2 separate regions of the Homo sapiens genome follow, and region 1 is linked to region 2. Evidence: promoter capture Hi-C in human tissues and cell types (Jung and others, 2019). All regions are on one chromosome and are shown on one strand. Each heading gives the region's core, a stretch centred on a gene start or on the middle of the fragment in contact. The rest is flanking DNA. Distances are from core to core; before and after follow the strand shown.

Region 1 (3,805 bases), core at 423-2,922, 86 kb before region 2:
TGAGGACCAGAGGTCGTAGGTGTATCTTTCTCATGGAGCAAAGAGCAGGAGGACAGGGGATTGATCTCCCAAGGGAGGTCCCCCAGTCCGAGTCACCACACCAAATTTCACAAGCGTCCATGTGAAGAGACCACAAACAGGCTTTGTGTGAGCAACAAGGCTATTTATTTCACTTGGGTTCAGGTGGGCTGAGTCCAAAAAGAGAGTTAGCAAAGAGAGAAAGGGGTGGGGCCGTTTCATAGGATTTGGGTAGGTAGTGGAAAATTACAGTCAAAGGGGGATGTTCTCTGGCTGGAAGGGGTGGGGGTCACAAGGTACTCAGTGGGGGACCTTTTGAGCCAGGATGAGCCAGGAGAAGGAATTTCACAAGGTAATGTCATCAGTTAAGGCAGGAACAGGCCATTTTCACTTCTTTTGTGATTCTTCAGTTACTTCAGGCCATCTGGATGTATATGATGTGCAGGTCACAGGGGATATGATGGCTTAGCTTGGGCTCAGAGGCCTGACAATTACCCTGCCAGAAACTCCAATACTGTGTTGAATAGGATTGGTAAGAGAGGGCATTCTTGTCCTGTGCCAGTTTTCAAGGGGAATGCTTCCAGCTTTTGCCCATTCAGTTTGATATTGGCTGTGGGTTTGCCATATATGGCTCTTATTATTTTGAAGTGTATTCCTTCAATACCTAGTTTATTGAGAGTTTTTAACATGAAGGGATGTCGAATCTTATCAAAGACCTTTCTCCATCAATTGAAATTATTATGTGGTGTTTGTCTTTAGTGCAGCTTATGTGATGAATCACATTTGTTCATTTGCATATGTTGAGCCAACCTTACATCCTGGGGGTGAAGCCAACTTGATCATGGTGGATAAGCTTTCTGATGCTCTGCCGGATTCAGTTTGTCAATATTTTACTGAGAATTTCTACACTTATGTTCATCAGGGATATTGGCCTGAAGCTTTCTTTTTTTGTTGTATCTCCGCCAGGTTTTGGTATCAGATAATGCTGGCCTCATAGAATGAGTTGAGAAGGAGTCCCTCCTTTTCAATGTTTTTGAATAGTTTCAGTAGAAATGATACCAGCTCTTTTTTGTACTTCTGGTAGAATTCAGCTGTGAATCTGTCTGGTCCTGGCTATTTTTTTTTTTTTTTTTTTTGGTTAGTTGGGTATTTATTACTGCCTTAATTTCAAAATTCATTATGGGTATATTTGAGGATTCAATTTCTTCCTGCTTCAATCTTTGGAGGGTGTATGTGTCCAGGAATTTATCCATTTCTTCTAGATTTTCTAGTTTATGTGCATAGAGGTGTTTATAGTATTTCCTAATGGTTACTTGTATTTCTGTGGGGTCAGTGGTGATTTCCCCCTTATCAAGTCTGATTGTATTTATTTGATTCTTTCTTTTCTTCTTTATTAGTTTAGCTAGTGGTCTATTTTATCAATTTTTTCAAAAAAAAATCTTCTGGATTTGTTGACATTTTGAAGGGTGTTTTTTTTTTTTTGTCTTTATCTTCTTCAGTTTAGCCCTGATCTTGGTTATTTCTTGTCTTCTGTTAGCTTTGGGATTGTTTGCTCTTGGTTATCTAGTTCTTTTAGTTGTGATGTTAGGTTGTTAACTTGAGATCTTTCTAGCTTTTTGATGTGGGCATTTAGTGCTATAGATTTCCCTCTTAACACTGCTTTAGCTGCATCCCAGAGATCTTTGGTACATTGTCTCTTTGTTTTCATTAGTTTCAAAGAACTTCTTGATTTCTGCCTCAGTTTCATTATTTATCCAGGAGTCATTCAGGAGCAGGTTGTTTAACTTCCATGTAGTTGTGTGGTTTTGACTGAATTTCTTAATCTTGAGTTCTAATTTGATGGTGCTGTGGTCTGAGAGACTGTTTGTTATGATTTTGGTTATTTTGCATTTCCTGAGAAGTGTTTCACTTCCAATTATATAACCAATTTTAGAGTAAATGCCATGTGACGATGAGAATAATGTATATTCTGTTGTTTTGGGGTGGAGAGTTTTGTAGATATCTATCAGGTCCACTTGGTCTAGAGCTGAGATCAGGTCCTGAATATCTTTACTAATTTTCTGTCTCAGTGATCTGTCAAATATTGTCAGTGGGGTGTTAAAGTCTCCCACTATTATTTTGTGAGAATCTAAGTCTCTTTGAAGGTCTCTAAGAACTGTTTTATAAATCTGGTTGCTCTTGTATTTGGTGCATATATATTCAGGATAGTTAGATCTTGTTGAATTGAACCTTTTGCCATTATGTAACACCCTTCTTTGTCTTTTTTGATCTTTGTTGGTTTAAAATCTATTTTGTCAGAAAGTGGGATTCTGACCCCTACTTTTTCTGTTTTCAATTTGCTTGGCAAATTTTCCTCCATTTCTTTATTTTAGGCCTATGTGTGTCTTCACATGTGAAATTGGTCTCTTGAAGACAGCATGCTGATGGGTCTTGGCTCTTTATCCAGCTTGTCATTCTGTGTCTTTTAATTGAGGCATATAGCCCATGGACATTTAAGATTAGTATTGTTACTTGTGAATTTGATCCTGTTGGATCAAATAATGCTAGTTGGTTATTTTGTAGACTTTTTTATGCAGTTGCTTCATAGTGTCACTGGTCTGTGTATTTCAGTGTGTTTTTGTAGTGGCCAGTAATGGTTTTTCCTTTCCAAATTTAATGCTTCCTTCAGGAGCTCTTAAAAAGCAGGTCTGGTAGTGACAAATTCCCTCAGTATTTGCTTGTCTGGAAAGGATCTTATGTCATTTCAGTCTTACGTTCAGCACCTCAGCATACATTGAGGTCAAGAGATAAATGTGTATTATGGACAACATGGTATATTCATGGTTGTTTTTTCCTCTAGGGCAACCAATCTTTTGTTTCCTGGACCAAACTTGTCTACCTGACTCTTTTCCCCTATGAGATATATAAGATTGTCTTCTGGGTAGCTCATCATTCTCTCATGCATACCTGAATTGCTGGTGGCTCATCCCATACCTACTGAACCTGGAGGCATAAATCTGGGTCAAAGAAAGGGAGACTTCACTACATTTAGATTCATACTTCCTGCAAGTTACTAGATCTTGCATTTTAAGAGAAGCTACAAAAGGAAAGAATACAATTTATGTAGTTACATATTTATTCATTGAAATTACTAAATGCTAAAAGAGATATCCTTGAAAAAGAAATGCTTTAGAAGTTCTAAAATGAAAGAATTGATATCATTTTATTTATTTCCCTCTAGTAACCTTTGAAATATTTTATTTTTGCAATCACGTGAAGTCATTTTTTTTTTTTTGAGATGGAGTCTTGCTCTGTCACCCAGGCTGGAGTGCAGTGGCATGATATTGGCTCACTGCAACCTCCACTTCCTGGGTTCAAGAGATTCTCCTGCCTCAGCCTCCTGAGTAGCTGGGATTACAGGCACCCCACCCCCACCACACCCAGATAATTTTTGTATTTTTAGTAGAGACACGGTTTCACCATGATGACCAGGCTGGTCTCAAACTCCTGACCTCAGGTGATCCACCTGCCTCGGTCTCCCAAAGTGCTGGGATTATAGGCATGAGCCACCATGTCTGGCCATGAAGTCATTTTTAAAAGGTTACATTGATAATTGATATTTGGTTGCAAAGAAAGGCAGATACTTCATCCTAAGGAAAGAGACAAGCAGGCAAAGCTCAACCCAGAAACAAAGCCTTGGTCTGGGAAAACCATATAGTGTGTGCCACTCTGAGCTCTTCCTGGCCCACCCATGTCTGAGATTCAGGGAGACAGTGGTACAAAACTCTTTAGCTTTGAAAGATATTAT
Region 2 (4,424 bases), core at 138-2,637:
TCTTATATTTAGAAGAAAATATAAGAAAAATCTTATATGTAGAAGAAATCATCTATAGTGTAAACAAAAGATAGAGACCTTTGTGAAATATCTCCTTCAAACACAACAATAGAGAAGAATGTTGTTTTTCCCTTGTAAAAAGCAATGTCACTTAAAGACCTGGAGTTGTTTCATTAATTCTCTTAGGCAAATTAAATTATCTAATTCAACATGACATGAAATAATGCAAAAGTAAATTACTTTATCTGGCTTCCAAAAATACTAAAACTACTTTTCTCAAGAAACTAAGCAATACTTAGAATACATTCTATTACCAGGGTCAACCTTGTTTCTGAATTACAGTGATGGGATAGTGAAGACAGGAGGCAGTCTCCCTTTGAAATTCTCCAACCAACATGTATTATCTATCAATCAGAGAACAGTTAACTGCATTTTCTTTTAAGTTTATTGATGTTGCTGCCAGCCTGCAATGTTTGCATCAGGACACTCTATACCCTGTTTCAAACCCATACTAACAAAGGAAAAGGGAGACACGAAAAAGGGAAATAATATTCAAAAATATCCAGATCCCACTCTGGGCTTTTTTTCATTAAATTCTCACGTTTCCAACTTCAGTTTCTCCTTAATAAATATTTGTGGTGGTGTAAAATGTGTTCCTCACCCACATTATGTACTTTTTATCAGTGGTAATACTATGAGAAGTGAGAATGTTGTATTGTAGTTACTTTAAAATGATTTTGTAAATATCATATTGTAGAGGTTTGACTGAATAATCAAGAAAGAAAATGCCAAAGTATGGAAACAAACATACTGGTACTAGTTAAATCAGAGTTCCTTCATCTTAACTTTGTTATTTCAGAAAATCTTTAAAATTGAGAGTGCGGTTCAACCACAAGACATTTTAAAGAGAGAAGCAGGACTCAACTGAATTGAAATGAGCGTCATTATTCTATCTTTCTTCCTATACCATACTTGAGTCCTGATGACTTTCAACAATGGCCTCTGCTAAAAGTATCATTCCTTGAAGTGGGTTCTGCAGTGGACATGTGTGTGTATGTGTTGTCAGTATATGTAATTTTGCTTTTACAATGTTGGCAGTAAGAAGAAGCCTTCTAATTTTATTCAGCATGATGATAGGCCCTAGCATTTTAATTATTTTTTATGTTGTGAGTAATTTATTATTCACTGGCTATCTTCCCTGTAAATCTTGTCCTCGCTCTGTAAGGTTTTTCTTTGGTGTCCAACAAAGGGTTTCATTGCAATAAGAATCAAGGTGTGTCTAAATTCTTACCCAGAGCCCAAACAATGCCAGTCTTCCAGACCAGCCTGGGAGTTTGGGGTGGGGAAACAGTCATTATAGAATATCTTCATCTCTCTGCCCAGAGATCACCACAGTTATCACCCATGCCCTCCTAAAAGGGTGTCTCAAAGCATATCTTTCTGTAGAGCAGAATTCGGAACTGAGAAGACGAGGGCTCAAATTGAATCTCACAGGATTTGCGTGCAAGAGAAACCCAAAGGAATGGATTGGCTCTTCTTCAGAAACATTTGCCTTTTGATCATTCTAATGGTAAGTAGAATTTAAAGAGGTGGGAAGGAAATGCAGCCTCAAGGTCTTGTCTCTGTCAACTGTCGGGCTTTCTACATGGGATTTATTCCATTTTTAATCTCCTTCCTGCAAAGAGAGTTCTAGAAGTCCAGCCTCTGTTAATTTCAAACAACTCTCTCCGCCTTGAGGAACAAAATGCCATAGAGAAGCGGGGTGAGAATCTGGCTGAATTAAATTTATATGCCCTCAGAGACATAATCTACTTCACTTTGAGTGTTAGGACTATTCTAAAATTTTAAATTGGAAATAAAATTCATATTCTATGATCATATAAATAAATCAGATAGATTGCTGTGAAAACTGCCAGTGCAAATGGGTTCTAAATTTGAAGGGAAGTTAATCAAACCCATTTCTTTTCAATAGTTATTTCCCTATGAGTTTCTTTCAAAGTGGAGGAATGATAGCCATGTTGAAATTACATTGCAACTAATGATGACATACTAAAGTCATGAGAACTTTTTCCAGTCAGATATTGCTAAAGAAAAATGAAGCCCAGCCATCAAGACAAAACTTTTCTGGAATTATGAATGCATTCCTACAGACCAGCAAAGAAATATTTAAATGACTTATTTCTTTACAGTAAACATGGCATCTTGGATATTATATTTCTTTCCTCTAACCTTTGGGTGCCCAAGGTGTGACATGATTTCCAGACAGGCAGCATGCATAGCAAATATCCTACCCTAGAAAGAGATAATTCCAACTCCAAAGAAGAACAAAGTTCCAGTTGGCCAATCAACAAACTATTGCCAATTCTGGGAGGGTAAGAGGACAGGATTATTAGGAACTGTACAAATTTTTCAAAGTAAATTAAGACAAATGCATTATAGTTGGCCACACTTCAATCTCCCAGGAGTATCCAGGTTAGCGCTACAACCTAAGCTTAGAAAGTGATTCCCATCCTATTCTTAGGCAAGTGGCAATTATACCAGACTCCTCTGAACATCAGTTGTAAGAGACAGAGAGTAGCTAGGGCTGGGAGAGATGGGAGCACGTCATTGTCCAAGAGGCACAGTGAGAGCTACTCTTCTGGAATTCACATTTCTAAACTTCAAGAGCAGTGCGGGAGCCGAACACTGCCAAAGGGCACACAACCCCAAGCTCAAAAGGGAACGTGACAACAGTGGTAGAATATTGCATCCTCTGAGTTTAGGAGACAGATTATTAAACAATACCATTTTTGAAAAATATTTTTAAACTTAAAAACATAAGACGAAGGGCAATATTCTGTTACAATGATCATTATTTATTTACTAAATAAAATAAATGTTACTAAAAGAAGAGGCAAGAATCGGACTTGGTCTTCAATTGAAATAGTAAGTTATGAGGATATACCTCTTGTTACTCTTCTACCGAGTATATTCATGCTTTGACTCAGATAAACTTTTGGTTTTCTGTAAGGAAAATTGTATGTGTCAAGATTTTAGAGGCCACTTCTGAGCACTAAATCTTGCCTCCCATTGCCTTCTGCACAGGCATGATTTATGATAATATTATTTAATTGAAGAGTTGATTCTTCTCCTTGATCTTGAAAGAGTATTATACTTCAGACTCTCAGGATCTTTTTTTGGTAGTATTTATTTATTTTCCTTGGTAATACTAGCGTTTTTAATACTTAATTCCTCCTACTCCTCATTGATATTGAAGTCTTTGTGTTTGACATTTCACGGTAATTGTGAAAAAGTTCTTTAAGTATTTTTTTTCTTTATGCTTGTCTAAAAGATCCCTTACCATATCAATTAATAGTGTCTGGAATTGGGAGGTAGAGACTTCTGGCATATTTCAAAATTGAAACAAATACAAGAATTGTTTAAGGAGAATCAATGAGATGTTATAGATATTATAGGAAAGTAGACATGCCTACTTCTCTTTAATTTCCTGAACTTGAACTCTGCCCCTTCTTCATTAACTAAATCAAAGACTCTCTGGGGCATCATTGCAGCTTACACTAATGAGGGTGTGGCAGCCTCTCAGAGACTCACAGGTACTTTGTGTCAGCTACATCTCAACCGCAAAGAGCACTGTAAACAAAGTTCTGACTGGCTAACCAGCAAAAGGTACTCAAAACTCTAGATTACAATAGGGCACTGATTTTATCACGAGTCATTTGGCATTTTCTTCCTAAGGATGCTTATCATGTTCTTCTATAAAACAGACAGGGGTGGTGAGGGACATTCAACAGTGAATCGAGATTCAGAAGTCCCGGGTTTGAATTACAGCTCCTCTTCAAAGTGGCTGTGTAACTTTGGCAAAAGCACCCAACTTCTCAGGGCTTCCTTTGACCTCATGTGAGAATGTATGGTTAGACATGATGTTATTAAGTTGCTTCCACTGTAGAAACTGCAATTCTAAAATTATCTCCACTGAATACTTACATAGTAGAAGTTCATTTCTGGCTCATAAATAGTTTTCATAAATTTGGCTGGAGAATCTGAGGATTTAGGCAATTCTATGGATTGTATAAATTTTATAAGGAAGGAATCACTTACGGCAGGACAGTTATTAGCTGGAAGAGGCCTATATTATATCAAGTGGATAAGGTCATAAAAGACAACCATTTATCAGATAAGAATTTTTCTCTATGTGTGATGACCATTCATGCTACATATAAGATGTAAGCACTTCCATTAAATAGTCTAATTCTTGGAAGTTAAAAAGGTAGGTGGCTAAATATAGCTGTTATCTCATTGCAAGTTGAGAGCAGGCATCAAAATTTGAAAACATATTTAAAATTAACTTAGCCACTTATCAATTTAGTTCTCACATGCACTCAAATATGTTATTCTGAAACATGGAACAGAAATTTGTTTCTATT

The links. The method cuts DNA at HindIII sites, captures the fragments that hold promoters and counts their contacts. A contact is called where the count stands out against the background at its distance.
Region 1: a fragment that was not itself captured here is called in contact with the fragment with the promoter of DSG4 in region 2 in 2 of the 25 tissues and cell types used here (heart left ventricle and small bowel).

Annotation. Positions count from the first base shown.
Region 1 is chr18:31,289,420-31,293,224 of GRCh38, forward strand. No RefSeq gene overlaps it. Among named protein-coding and RNA genes, the nearest start is that of DSG1, 27 kb to the right of the region's middle. The HindIII fragment of the contact is 4,429 bases long and covers 1-3,805 here.
Region 2 is chr18:31,375,390-31,379,813 of GRCh38, forward strand. DSG4 (desmoglein 4) reads left to right here and starts at 1,388. Exons shown (of 16, transcript NM_177986.5): 1 at 1,388-1,570. The coding sequence starts at 1,523. The region is part of intron 1 of DSG1-AS1 (DSG1 antisense RNA 1); the gene reads right to left. The HindIII fragment of the contact is 6,705 bases long and covers 1-3,610 here.